3 separate regions of the Homo sapiens genome follow, and all the other regions are linked to region 2. Evidence: promoter capture Hi-C in human tissues and cell types (Jung and others, 2019). All regions are on one chromosome and are shown on one strand. The core of a region is centred on a gene start or on the middle of the fragment in contact, and the rest is flanking DNA. Distances in the headings are between cores, read along the strand shown.

Region 1 (4,745 bases), core at 373-2,872, 200 kb after region 2:
CCCTTGAAAACAGTAGCATTGGACTATAGGGATTTTCCTGATGAAGTTGCATTGCCTATCTCTGATGTTCATATTCAGCCTCTCTCAAGTGTGATTGCATTTTGTTTTAAGGCAGCTATTTCAGATATTGTTAAACTTAAGGGGCATGCAATATATGCTCTTAAGGATATTTTTTAGAGTACTGATGAATTATAACTTCTTTCACATTGTTTTCCACATAGAGATGCATGATAATGTGTCCGGAATTGGTTCATTCTGGTGGGTTCTTGGTCTCGCTGACTTCAAGAATGAAGCTGCGGACCCTCGTGGTGAATGTTGCAGTTCTTAAAGATGGTGTGTCCGGAGTTTGTTCCTTCAGATGTTCAGATGTGTCCGGAGTTTCTTCCTTCTGGTGGGTTCATGGTCTTGCTGACTTCAGGAGTGAGGCTGCAGACTTTTGCAGTGAGTGCTACAGCTCTTAAAGGTGGCGCGTCCGGAGTTGTTCATTCCTCCCGGTGGGTTCGTGGTATTGCTGGCTTCAGGAGTGAAGCTGCAGACTTTCGCAGTGAGTGTTACAGCTCTTAAAGGTGGCGCGTCCGGCATTGTTCATTCCTCCCGGTGGGTTCGTGGTCTCGCTGGCTTCAGGAGTGAAGCTGCGGACCTTCGTGGTGAGTGTTACAGCTCATAAAGGCAGTGTGGACCCAAAGAGTGAGCAGCAGCAAGATTTATTGCGAAGAGCAAAAGAACAGAGCTTCCACGGCATGGAAGGGGACCCGTGTGGGTTGCTGCTGCTGGCTCAGGTGCCTAGCTCTTCTTCCCTTATTTGGCCCCACCCACATCCTGCTAATTGGTCCATTTTACAGAGAGCTGATTGGTCCATTTTACAGAGTGCTGATTGGTCCGTTTTTACAGAGTGCTGATTGGTGCGTTTACAAACCTTTAGTTAGACACAGAGCGCTGATTGGTGCATTTGCAATCCTTTAGCTAGACAGAAAAGTTCTCCAAGTCCACACCGGACCCAGAATCCCAGCTGGCTTCATGTCTCAATAAGTATGTATTGAATTATTTTTTGTGTGAAGGACACGTGAAAATACTGGTTCAATTAAAGATTATTCTGGGCAGAAAAAGTATTATGTAATAACAGACTTCTCTACAACTGATATAGCCAGCCAGAGCTGGAGTGGATGAAGTTGAAATGGTTCTTTATAACATTTTTGTATTACTTCTAGAGCTTCATAGAAAGCTGAGATCACTAAGCACAATTTAATAGGTACTCTAATTTTTTTTTTTTTTTTTGAGACATAGTCTTACTCTGTCAGCAGGCTAGAGTGCAGTGGTGTGATCTCAGCTCACTGCAACCTCTGCCTCCTGGGTTCAAGCGATTCTCCTGCCTTAGCCTCCCAAGTAGCTGGGACTACAGGCACATGCAACCATGCCCAGCTAATTTTTTGATTTTTAAGAGAGACGGAATTTCACTATGTTAGCCAGGATGGTCTTGATCTCCTGACCTTATGACCCACCTGCCTTGGCCTCCCAAAGTGCTGGGATTACAGGTGTGAGCCACTGCGCCCGGCCTAGGCACTGTAATTTTGTGGGAAGAGAATTGTGATTCAGGAGACCAAGGCTTGACTGGGTGAGTCACTTCACCTTTCATGGCCTATTTTCTCATTTGAAAACATAAATCTCTGAAAGTTTCCTTCAGAAATGGTATGCTTCCAATTTAAAGCAAATTTTATTTCTCTTATATATGGGTTTAATCAATATTTGAGTGCCTATTATGTGTCTCATGCTATGCTAGGCACTGGGGAGATTGTGAATAAGACATAGTGCTAAGTCTCAAGCACCTTATTCTCTGATGGGAGAAATGGACAAAGTAATTAGTAATTTGTAATAAAGCATGTTAAATGCTATAAGGATAGATAAGAATGTGTTTTGGGGCATGTAGGAAGAATACCTGGCCTAGAACTAGAAAGAATACACAAAAATTGAGGAATGTCTCTTTAGAATCTTGTAAGTGTAGTTGTAGGGTGTACAGAGCAGTATTCAACTTGGCCCGGAGGAAGTTAGTCAAAGAAAACTAGGAAAACAATTCTTGAAGTTGGAGAGAGAGAAGAGTCATCAACGTTAGTGGTAGTTGAAATACCAGGTATAGATGAGGTTCCTAGTGAGAGTTGTGTAGAATCAGAAGAGAGCTTGTGAACACCAGCATGTAATAGGAAGGGGGAGAAAGAAGGTAGGAAAACCAGAGTAGGGTAACGTTTTGGAAACCAAAGAAAGAATGCACATCACATTTAGTTTATTGATTAAATGGAAATTGTTGCTCAAGAAACATTGAGTGTGTAGTCCTATAAATGTAAACCTATCTAAATAAAGATGCCCTCTACAAAGATCTGAACTTGCAAATGGGGGTAGTTTAAGTCCTTGTTTAGCAGCGTAACAGAGGAAAGAGTATGTACTTTGGAGCCTGGATCCTGAGAGTGAAGGTTAGATTACTAGCTGCGTAACTTTTTGAACCAGTTACTTAATTTTTTGGTCCTTAATGTATGGATTAAAATAAGGTAAGCTGTAAACTTGACTTTTAGTGGGCATTGTTGATTTTTATCCTTGCCATTATTAATGACTCTTCTGAACTACATACCCTTCTTTTCCTTCCCCATCCCCCGTCATATTCTTTCATCCTTCAAGATCCACCAAAATTCCTGCCTTTTCTTTGATATCTTCCTCTATGGATGATATTACAAATTTTCTGTAATGGAATGAACATGTCCTGTGTCCCTTAGAATTAGCAACGTTATTCTTTTTTCTTTTTCTTTTTTAAAGCCTTAAGAAGGAAATTGTATTATCTCACATGTAAGAAGTCTGGAGATAGGTGGTTCTAAGATTGTCAATTAAGTGGCTTAGTGATAATCTTTAAGAACCTGGATTCTTTTTGCTTGGTCATCCTTTGAACTCAGCCTTGATTACTACAACTATCAACAAATTTTCCAAAGTTTGGAAGAGATAACTTCTTTCTTCTACCTAGCCCTTTTTAAACAGCTTTATTGAGATATATTTTACCTACCATAAAAACCACTCATTGTAAGTGTACAATTTAATGGTTTTTAGCAACTTTATAGAGTTGTGCGACTGTCATCACAAGGCAATTTCTGACATTTTATCAGTCTCCTAGATTCTCTCAAGCTTATTTGCATTTAAGGTAACTCCTTCCCACAGCCCCAGAGAACCACTGATCTACTTTCTATCACTATAAATTTGTCTTTTCTACATATTTCATATAAATGGAATCAATACAGTAGTCTTTTGCATCTGGCTTCTTTAACTTCATGCTTTTGAGGTTTATTTAATGTATGTATATCAATGTTTTGTTCTTTTTAATTGTTGCATAGTATTCGTGTGTATTTTCCATTCACCAGTTGAATAGTATTGGTGAATAGTATTTCCCATTTACTGGTAACCAGTGAATAGTATTTCCCATTCACTAGGTGATAGACATTGGATGGTTTCCAGTTTTTGGCTGTTATGAATAATGCTGCTATGAAGATTTGTCTGTAATTCCTTGTGTGAGCATATGTATTCATTTGTTTTGGGTAAATTCCTAGGAGTGGAATTGTTGAATTATATGGTAAGCTTATTTTTAACTTTTAAAGAAACTGTCAAAATGTTTTCCAAAGTAGCTGTACCAATTACATCCTACCAGCAATGTATGATGATTCCAGTTTCTCCACATCCTCACCAACAGTTGGTATTATCTTTTTAATTATAGCCATTCTAGTTAGTATCTAGTAGTATCCCATTGTAATTTTAATTTGCATTTCCCTGCACAGTAATGTTGGACACCTTTTTCTGTGGTTATTGGCCATTTGGTGGAATATCTGTTTAAGGCATTTGCCCATTTTTTAGCTGGGTTTTTTTTTTTTTTTTTTTGGTCTTACTGAGTTGTAAGAGTTCTTTATATATGCTGGATGAAAGTTTGTATTGTTTTTAATATCAGAGATAAGATTTGCAAATATTTCTCCCAGTTGGTGTCTTGGCTTTTCATATTTTTACTGTTGTCTTTTGAAGTGCAAAAGTTTTTAATGAAGTCATTTCTTTTGTGTGTGTGGCACGTACTTTCATGTTATGTATACGAACTTTTTGCCTAATCCAAGGTCCCAAAGATTTTTCTTTGAGCTCCCAAAGGTCTTCTTTGAGCTCTTTCCTTTAAATATAAGATTCATATTGAATTAACCGTGCATTTGATGTAAGAAGAGGATCTAAGTTCATTTTTTAAAAATGTGAATGCCAAATTATCCAGTACCATTTGTTAAAAAGACTGTTCTTTTCCCTTCAATTGTATTGGCATCTTTGTAAAATATCAGTTGACTATAATGTAAGAATTTATTCCAAGACTCATGTCTATAAACCTATCCTTACTCCAACACTATTCTGTCTTGATTACTGCAGTTTTATAGTAAGTTTCAAAATAAGTAGTGTAACATTTTCTTCTTTTTCAAAATTGGTTCTATGCTCTTTCCATTTCCATATACAATTTAGGATCAGCTTGTTAATTTCTACAAAAACACATCTGATGTTTGTAGGATTTGCATTGAATCTATCCATCAATATGGGAAGAATCACTAACTTAACCATCTTGAGTCTTCCAATCCATGAACATGTAATATCTCTCCATTTACTTAGATCTTTCATTTCTCTTAATAATGTTTTTTACTTTTCAGTGTACAAATCGTGCACTTATTTGGTTAAATTTATTCCTAAGACTGTTATAA
Region 2 (4,355 bases), core at 1,399-3,898:
CTCCATGTTGGTCAGGCTGATCTTGAACTGCTGACCTCAGGTGATCGGCCCACCTCAGCCTCCTGAAGTGCTGGGATTACAGGCGTGAGCCACCACGCCCTGCCTAAAATTAAAGTTCTTAAAATAGAATGAAAGTCCATATATGATCTGGCCCTCTGAAATGTCTCTGACCTCATCTCTTTCCAGTGAACACTGGCCTCCTTGCTCTTCCTTGAACACTCCCGAAATGTTCAGGGCCCTTGACTTTCTGTTTGTCTGCTGGAAATTTTCAATGTCTATACTTCTGGCTTCCTCATTTCCCAAGTCTCTGCTCAAGGTCACCTTATCATGGAGGACTTCTCTAGCCACCCTAGCTAAAATCTCCCTCCAACACACACACACACACACACACACACACACACACACCCCAGCGTTTGGTATTTCTCTTCTTTCAAAGAACTTACCTGAAAAACTCTCTGGGTCTAGTATAGTTGTGTGTTGGGGTAGTGGTAGATGGGTATTTTTAAAAGTGTTGATTTAATTTTTTGAATGGCTTAAGGACTACATGGGACTTTCAATTTCTTCTTAAGTTAGTTTTAACCCTTTCTCTACAAAAAAATATATTTTTAAAATTAGCCAGAAATGGTGGCACACACCTGTAGTTCTAGCTACTTGGGAAACTGAAGTGGGAGGATCCCTTGAGACCAAGAATTTGAGGCTGCAGTGAGCTATGATTGTGCCACTGCACCCCAGCCTGGGCAACAGATACCCTATCTCTAAAAAACATTTTTTAAAAAATTTTACTTTCTGAATAGTTAATATATGCCCACAGTATAAACATTCAAGTTTCAAAAGTATACACAGTGAAAATTAGATCTCTCTCCATCTCTGCCTTCTAGCTACCTGGTTCCCCTCTCTTGGCATCAATTTCTTGTCTGTTTCCCTAGTTTCTTATTTATCCTCCCAGATATATGTCGTGCATGTAGAAGCACATAACATATATTGTTTTTACATAAATGGTGGAATGCCATATATATTATCCTGCACATTGCTTTTTTTCCACTGAACCATGTATGTTAGATTTGCTTCCAAAGCTATTCATAGAGGGCTGCCTCATTTCTATTCCAGTTACCTAATATTCTATTGGATGATGTACCATCATTTATTTACTTAGTCTCCTTCTGAAGGATAATTAGGCTATTCTGTCTTTACAGTGGCCTTCTAAGAAGCCAGTGTGTTTTGCCCATCTTCAATCGCTGCTTCACCCTGATGTCAGATATACCTTCTCCTTAAACTTCCATTCCCATGCTATCATTTCCCTGTTCAAGAATTTCCAACAGCTACCCAGTTCCCACAGAATAAGGCTGAACTTCTTACCCTTGAACGAAGATTCTGCATGGTCTCTGCCTTCTTTTCCATCATGTCTTCCTGTTCCTGAGGACACTCCCCAAAACTGATGACTTGAGGTTTTCCCAAATGTACCTCTGATTTTAGGGGCTCCAAAGTTTTCTTCAGCCTGCTCTACCGTCCCCTTTGAACCCTATGAGGGAAATCCTTCCCTCCCCCTGGACTGGTCACACTGGGCTCCAGGTCCTCTCTGGAACAGCTGCACTTTAAATATTTCAGCCCAGTCTCCCACTGTACACCCTACAGAGCCAGAACAGGTGTTTTGAATTTTGTTTGGGGTTACTGATATTTAAATTGTTCACCAATGGTCCTTCCTCTTCTAAACTCCAAATTCCTTGTGGGCAGGGACTGATGACTGGGAATGGGGAATACTAAAATGAAAAGATATCCTGACTTCCAAGTAGCTTAAAACATAAAGGTAAGCTGGGCACAGTGGCTCACGCCTGTAATCCCAGCACTTTGGGAGGCTAGGGCAGGTGGATCACGAGGTCGGGAGATCGAGACCATCCTGGCTAACATGGTGAAATCCCGTCTCTACTAAAAATACAAAAAAATTTAGCTGGGTGTGGTGGCAGGCGCCTGTAGTCCCAGCTACTTGGGAGGCTGAGGCAGGAGAATGGCGTGAACCCGGGAGGCGGAGCTTGCAGTGAGCCGAGATTGCGCCACTGCACTCCAGCCTGGGTGACAGAGCGAGACTCAGTCTCAAAAAAAAAAAAAAAAGAAAGAAACATAAAGGTGAGCCAGATATGCAAAATTAAAATACACAACACAGTAGGATCTTAGTTTAAGTGGAAGTATGCTCTATGCTCAGGGCAATCATGGTCGGGGGGAGTTTTTATTTTATTTCATTTTTTTACTTTAAATCTCTGGTCTCTAGTCCAGCGTCTGGTACATGGCAGCTGCCCAGTAAGTGCCTGTTGAATGGAGAATAACATAAAAAGAGGCATTTAAGGCAAGTGTCAACTTCTTGCAGTAACAGTCACCTTTTATATATAAAATAAGTCAACAGATAGTGTAGTGTGGATGTCGCTTATCTTTTGGGGAGAAAGAGGGCTGTGTGGGAGGGGATGGAATCAACTTTCAGCCAGGGAGGGAGGCGAAGACATTGCCTCCCGGGTCGGGGGTGGGTGGGGGGTCCAGGCGGCTGCGGGGCGCGGGAGAGGCGGGGAGAAGGGAAGGGGGAGGAGACTCTCGCCTCCTGCCCCGCCTCCCCCACCCCGCGGCGGCGGCGGCGCAGGGCGGCCGCGCGGGTGTTGGCACCAGAGGCAACAGCTGCAGCAGCCGCGCCGCCCCCTCGCCCGCGGCTCCCAGGGTGATCCCGAGCACAGCCGGTGGCTCGCGGCGCGGCAGCCCCAGAAGACGGGAAAGTTCGCGGCCGGAGCGCGGAGATGCCGGGCAGCGACACGGCGCTCACCGTGGACCGGACCTACTCGTACCCCGGCCGGCACCACCGCTGCAAGAGCCGGGTGAGCGCAGCGGGCTGGGGGGCGGCGGGTGCGCGCGGGCCCGGGGGCGAGGCGGGCTGGGGCGGCGGCTCAGTGCTAACCCACGCGCCCCCGGCGTTTCGCCGCCGCCCTCCGCTGCCGCCGGAGGTCCGTGCCTCCCCGATCCTCCGAGCTAAAAGGGTGGGCGTCGGGGGCGTCGGAGCCCAGGCTGCGGTTCTGGGATCCCAGGTCCGCCTGCCCCTCACGGCGCCCAGGTCCCCGCGCGCTATGCGGGACGCCCGGTTCCCCGACGGCCCGCGCTCTGCTGTCCTCCCCGCCAGGGAGCGCCCGCCGCTCCGCGAGGGAATCCCGCCACCCGGCCACCCGCGGCCCCGCGTCTCCAGGTCTCCGGGGTCTCGCCCTGGGTGTGACGGTGCCCTCCCCGCCGAACGTCCCGGCGGCCGCCCTGTCTCCCTGTCCTCGGGGCGTGTGGCCGGAACCCGAGCGCGGTGCGCAGCCGGAGCGCGGGGAGGCGGCGGACGGGCTCTGCCCAAGTGAAAAGTCAGAATCTTTGCGCTGCCTCTCCGGAGTTTCGAGCCGAGCCGAGCAGGCGCCCTCGCCATTGTTTGCAGTGTAATTTGCTGTTGCTGATTTTGGCTGTGGGCGAAAATAGCTCATTCTGAGCCTGCTGCAGAGACGAGCCCTGTAGGGCTTCAAAATAAAGACGGAGGCCGCAGCCCAAGCGCGGGTCTGTCCTGGGAGAGGAAGCCTTCGCCCTCCCCGGTGAATACCTTTGCCCTCCCGGGCTGTTGAATCGTCGAGGCTGGATGTGAGGCTCTGTAACCCGTTCTCCCCAGGGCTGATTGAAGTGCCATTTAACAAAGCACCTCCTCCACGCTGGCATCTGTTCTGGCAGGAGGCACCTGGAGTTGTTCTTTGCTCCGCCAACTACTTACTCGCTTGTCCGAGAACTGGGGATTTGGGTGTCAGCCTCTGTGTAAAGTTCACGGAGGGAGAGCCGGGCTCAGATTCTGGCCTGCCACTTCCAAGATCGAGAGACCAACTGGATGGAAATAGTAGCAATAGTGACGGGGTTGTGTCGCGGCCCTTTGTGCAGGATTTTGGTCTTCACTCATAATTTGAAGTAGTAATCGATTGCCCCAGAAGTGAAGCAATGAGTCTCTGGTTTATTTGCCCGCTTTCCCTTTTTCCTTTAGCATCTGTTAATCATTTTGGAAGGATGATTTGAGTTTTTACAGATTGAATATATTTGGTGGAATAATACCTCATGCACTCATCTCAATCTTACAATTCTCTTGTTTTTGCACTTTGTGTATAAGTTTCGTAACAGTTTGCTGTGAAAATAACCAGAAACTCCATTTGGAATAAACATTGAAGAAATGTGCTTACCCACAGGTAGACATTTCTTCTTGGATAGCTGTAATGCTAGTTAACAGAACTATGAAGAAAAGGAGATCATCTTCGAATGCATTTGTAATTGAGAGGATTCTGTAAAGTTAATATTGCAGACTTGAAATGTGAAAG
Region 3 (4,258 bases), core at 759-3,258, 220 kb before region 2:
CAGGAAGAGGTAATGTTGTAGAAAGCAGCACAAGTAGTGTTAAAACAAGGCGCTGTGGTGAGATCACACAAACCAATGAAGTGGCTAACACTGTATCTCCAGGTTAAGATTTCTTACAATGCTGAGCAAGAATACTGATACTCTAATACTCACATAGTAATACTCTAAATCTTGAACTTTACTTCTGGCTAGGCCTTTAATGCATCTATTTAGTCCAAGTTGTCATTTTACTGATGAGGAAGCTAAGGCTCTGAGATGTCAAGTGACTAATCTATGACAAAAGCTCACGTTTTTACTTCCAGGAACACCTTTACACAGTTGCACCTTTTCTATGAAGCAGAGGAGGGCAGTATTGCATGGGCATTAAGTGAGAGGGTCCTCGTGTCAGACTGCCTGAGTTGAAATCCAGGCTGTGCCACTAACAAGCTGTATGATCTCGGGCAAATGACCTGCCCTCTCTGAGCTCGAGTATCTCCCTCTAAAAAAACCATAATATCCCAGTACGTACTTCATAGAGTTGTGTGGATTGAAATGATAAGACAGGTATGGCTCAGAAGTACACTTACTAACATTGTTATTTTCCCAAAGAAAGGCAAAAACATAAAAGCTCAATCAGAAGAGATTATATATCCAGGGAGGAAAAAACCCACTGCATACAGATCATAAGATAAAGTAAAAAAGGGACATAGCAAGTGTCATTAATTGTCGTTTCTTACATTTCCCCCTCACACATCAGTCACTCCTCCCCCTATCTGTGCTGATAGGCACCAAAGAGAAATCCAGACAAAATGTTTTTATTCATTAGATCATTAAGGTACTTCGTGTAATATTACGGTCTCTATAGTGCTGCTGACAATCAATGTTAGAAAATTATAAAGGTATTTCTTTGGCAGTGGTGATCTGCCAGAATAACTGGCATAAAGGCAATGCCAAAGCTGAAACACTCATGAGAAGTGTTTACCCGGCACAAGCCTTTGCATTCCCACTGCTGTCTGCCTGCATACCTGTCACAGCCGCTTTGGAAACACAAGCGTCCTTGGATGCTTTTCAAAGGATCCTCTGACAAACAAGAGATATTTTTTTCTACACAAAATTCAGGCTGCCTTGAGTTCCGTGCTATTTGATTTACTTTGTTCAGCAGTCGAAGCAGAATAAAATCAGATTTCTTCCTGGAAGACCTTCCCACATCATTCCATCCTGTTCTTGCGGATTTAGATCCTGCATTCTGAGCTCAAGGGTGTGCAGCGTTTTCATGATCTGGGGAATACATTTTTCCCCCTTCTCATTTTTTTCCCGCAGAAGCATTAGCATTTGGGGATGGGCTCCCGTGTTGTTTGGAAAAGTTGGGGTGGAGGTCGATTGTGAAGAGAAAGCTGTGCACACAGGGGACTGCTAGGAAAACCCGTGGGTTTCGCTGGAATGGGGATGCTGACCTCTTCCCCTGCCGAGCTCCTTCACCTGAATGAGACCAGACGGTCTCTGTTCCACGGTGTTTCCTCCAGCCCCGGGTGGATCTGCTGTTTACCGCTCTTAACTCTCTTCCCACCCCTCCTCGGAAAGCTTTATGAATGCTCAGGACTTTCAAAAAACAATCGCAGAATCTAAAGAATGGTAAAGGGCCGACGCACTGGCTCACACCTCTCATCCCAGCACTTTGGGAGGCCGAGGCTGGAGGGTCGCTTGAGGCCAGGAGTTCGAGACCAGCCTGGGCAAAATGGCGAGACACCAGTCTCTACAAAAGAATAAAAATACAAAAATTAGCCGGGCGTAGTGGAGCACTCGCCTGTGGTCCCAGCTACTGGGAAGGCTGAGGCGGGAGGATCGCTTGAGCCTGGGAGAATCGCAAGGCTGCAGTGAGCCGAAATCGCGCCCCTGCGCTCAGCCTGGGGGACAGAGCGAGACCCTGTCTGAAAAATTAAAAAGAAAACGAAGAGTAGGAACGGACATTAGCGGGCCACCTTCCCATCCCATGGGGAGAATTTTAAGGTGGTACTTTTAAGGCGGGTGAGAATTGCCATCTGCGCTCTCCGCCAATCCACTCTTGCTCCGCAAACTTGGGGTCCCTGTAGGGTGGGCCCAGCTTTCACCCCAAAGCTTCTCCAGCTCAGTTCTGGGGGCCGCGGGGCAGGCATCGGAGACTCGCTCCGCTCCTGGTGGGGCCAGAACTCGAGGAAGAGGAGAGGGGCGAAGCGGCCCGAGGAGGCGGGGACGCTGCGACGGCGGCAGAAAGGCCCCGGGGCCCCGGAGCTCCGCGAGCTCAGTGCGCCCTTGGCCGGCTCCGCGCCTCCGCCGCAGCCCGGGAGAGCCCCGGGGACCCCGCGGCCAGCGCTACCCCGCCCCGCCCCCGCCGGCTTGGCGGCCGCGGCGCAGGCGTGTGCAGGAGGGGGCAGCGCGGAGCTCCCGGCCGGCCGAGCGTCGCCGCCGGCCCAGCCCTTCTCGCGCCCAAGTCGCCGAGCCCCGCCCGGACGGCCCAGACACCATGCGGAGGGTGAGTGCGCCGTCGCCCCGGGGTGCGGGGGCGGGGGCGTGCGCCGGGGTCCTCCCAGCGGGAATAGTGAGGGTGCGGCGGGGACGGACCTCGGCGGGGAGCGCGGTCGCCCCCGGGGGACTGAGGAGGGGAAGGGGCGCCGCGGGGACCCCGGGCCCGCACTCTTCGGGGCTGCGCTGGCACGTCGGAGCCCTGGGCCCGCGCTTGCGAGGTGGGCTGCGCCCGGCACTCCGCCCCACGCCTGCTGGCGAGCCCCTTCTCCGGCTCCCCTGACGCCCGCCTGGCTGCCAGAATTCTGCCCAAAGCCCCGGTCCTTCTTTGGGAGCCCGGGCAGCTCTGCTGGGCGTCGGTGGGGCTCCCTTGGCGCACACCCCAGAGACGGAGCCAGCCCCAGGTCCGGGCCAGGTGGGCGACAGGTCGAGGCCGGGGCTGGGGTTGGGGAGAGGAAGGATGCCTGCACTCCGGCATTTGGAAGGCGCGAGCCTCCTCCAGGCACGGCCCGCCGACGGCGCGCAGCTCCTGGCCTGGGGCGCCCTCGGGGGCTGCGGCTGCTGCTTTACCGGCAGGTGCCAGGGAGCCCGCGCTCACCCCCACCCTCCAGCCAAGGCTGCCTGTGGAAAAACGAAAAATAAACAGGCTCAGCTGCAGTGGCTCTTCCACCTCCAGGGACAGCTTGGGGGACTGGTGCTGCTTGTTGTTAGCCCCGGAGAGAGCGCAGGCCCTAGTGCAGCTCGTTCTTACTTGTCTGGGGAAGTTAATTGACACGAAGATGCTGGCGACTTTGTAAGTTACCAGACCCGTTTGTATTTTAACTTTGGAAATGGAAGGTGCTTTAATCAAATACAGGATCTCAGCATTAATATGTGTGGAAAAGCAGTAGAGGAAACTTAAGGAAATCCTATTGGGTACCCTCCACATTGTCCCAGAACTCCTAAGGCCACCCTGAAGACAGTTTACGCGCCAAGGAAGGGGTGGAGGGGTATTTTCTGAAGAGACAAGGCTGAGAAGAAATGGAAGAAAACCAAACCAAAACAAAACAAAACAAAAAAAAAGAAGAAAACAAAAACGGAATAAGACTCTCCCACCAGAGTCCATGCATTTCTCTAGGTTGGAACTTGAGGTTGGCTTGTTGTAAGGTACGTAGGCGCCTATTGCTTTGGTCATCTGAGTGGCCCTTTCAGAGATTTCCGCCTCTCAGCGGCTGGGCTGCTCCCAAGGGAACTCGGGCCCCTTTTGGCTGGTGGTACCAGAATTAAGTGTTCTGTGTGTGTGTGTTGAAGGGGGTGTCTTTGGAGGGAGTATAGAGCAAATGTGAATTGGCCCCAGCTGCCCCTGGAAAGTCTCTCAATGAGCTGACACGGAAATTTACCTGGCTTATACTTTTGGAGCTAGTCCAGACCTGCTCAGGTGTTTCTGGGGAGAACAGGATTCCAGCCAGGCTGGCCAGCTAGTTTGGCATGCAGCAGAAATGGAAACTGGCCGTGGTGAGGTTACTTGTTTGAACTCCAAATTCAGGGGTCAGCAACCTCCTTTTACTCTCAGTGCCTCAGGGTAATTAAAGAAAAGAGCCTGGATGGGATCCGTAGAAATGCGTGTTAGAGGGAGAATCACGATTTGGAGATGGAGGGCATTGACCAGAGTATCTTAACATGTGATCTGCCTACTACCTGCCTTAGGATGAAAGAGGTGGATGCTTGCTGCAAATGCAGATTCCTAGGCTTTGTTTCAAACCTAATGAGTTAGAATCTCTGAAACTGGAGCTTGGCAATC

The links. The method cuts DNA at HindIII sites, captures the fragments that hold promoters and counts their contacts. A contact is called where the count stands out against the background at its distance.
Region 1: a contact is called between a fragment that was not itself captured here and the fragment with the promoter of TMCC3 in region 2, in 1 of the 25 tissues and cell types used here (bladder).
Region 3: a fragment that was not itself captured here is called in contact with the fragment with the promoter of TMCC3 in region 2 in 1 of the 25 tissues and cell types used here (aorta).

What each region holds. Positions count from the first base shown.
Region 1 is chr12:94,450,626-94,455,370 of GRCh38, reverse strand. All of the region lies in intron 1 of CEP83 (centrosomal protein 83), which reads left to right. Among named protein-coding and RNA genes, the nearest start is that of CEP83, 6.9 kb to the left of the region's middle. The HindIII fragment of the contact is 6,878 bases long and covers 1-4,745 here.
Region 2 is chr12:94,648,850-94,653,204 of GRCh38, reverse strand. TMCC3 (transmembrane and coiled-coil domain family 3) reads left to right here and starts at 2,648. Exons shown (of 4, transcript NM_020698.4): 1 at 2,648-2,852. The coding sequence starts at 2,775. It overlaps LOC105369914 (a long non-coding RNA gene), which reads right to left. Exons shown (of 2, transcript XR_945225.4): 1 at 3,602-4,355; 2 at 2,203-2,300. RefSeq lists silencers at 2,525-2,694, 2,715-3,184, 3,275-3,404 and an enhancer at 2,481-3,196. The HindIII fragment of the contact is 17,613 bases long and covers 1-4,355 here.
Region 3 is chr12:94,871,870-94,876,127 of GRCh38, reverse strand. No RefSeq gene overlaps it. Among named protein-coding and RNA genes, the nearest start is that of MIR492, 40 kb to the right of the region's middle. RefSeq lists silencers at 2,094-2,193, 2,204-2,813, 2,874-2,993. The HindIII fragment of the contact is 3,754 bases long and covers 132-3,885 here.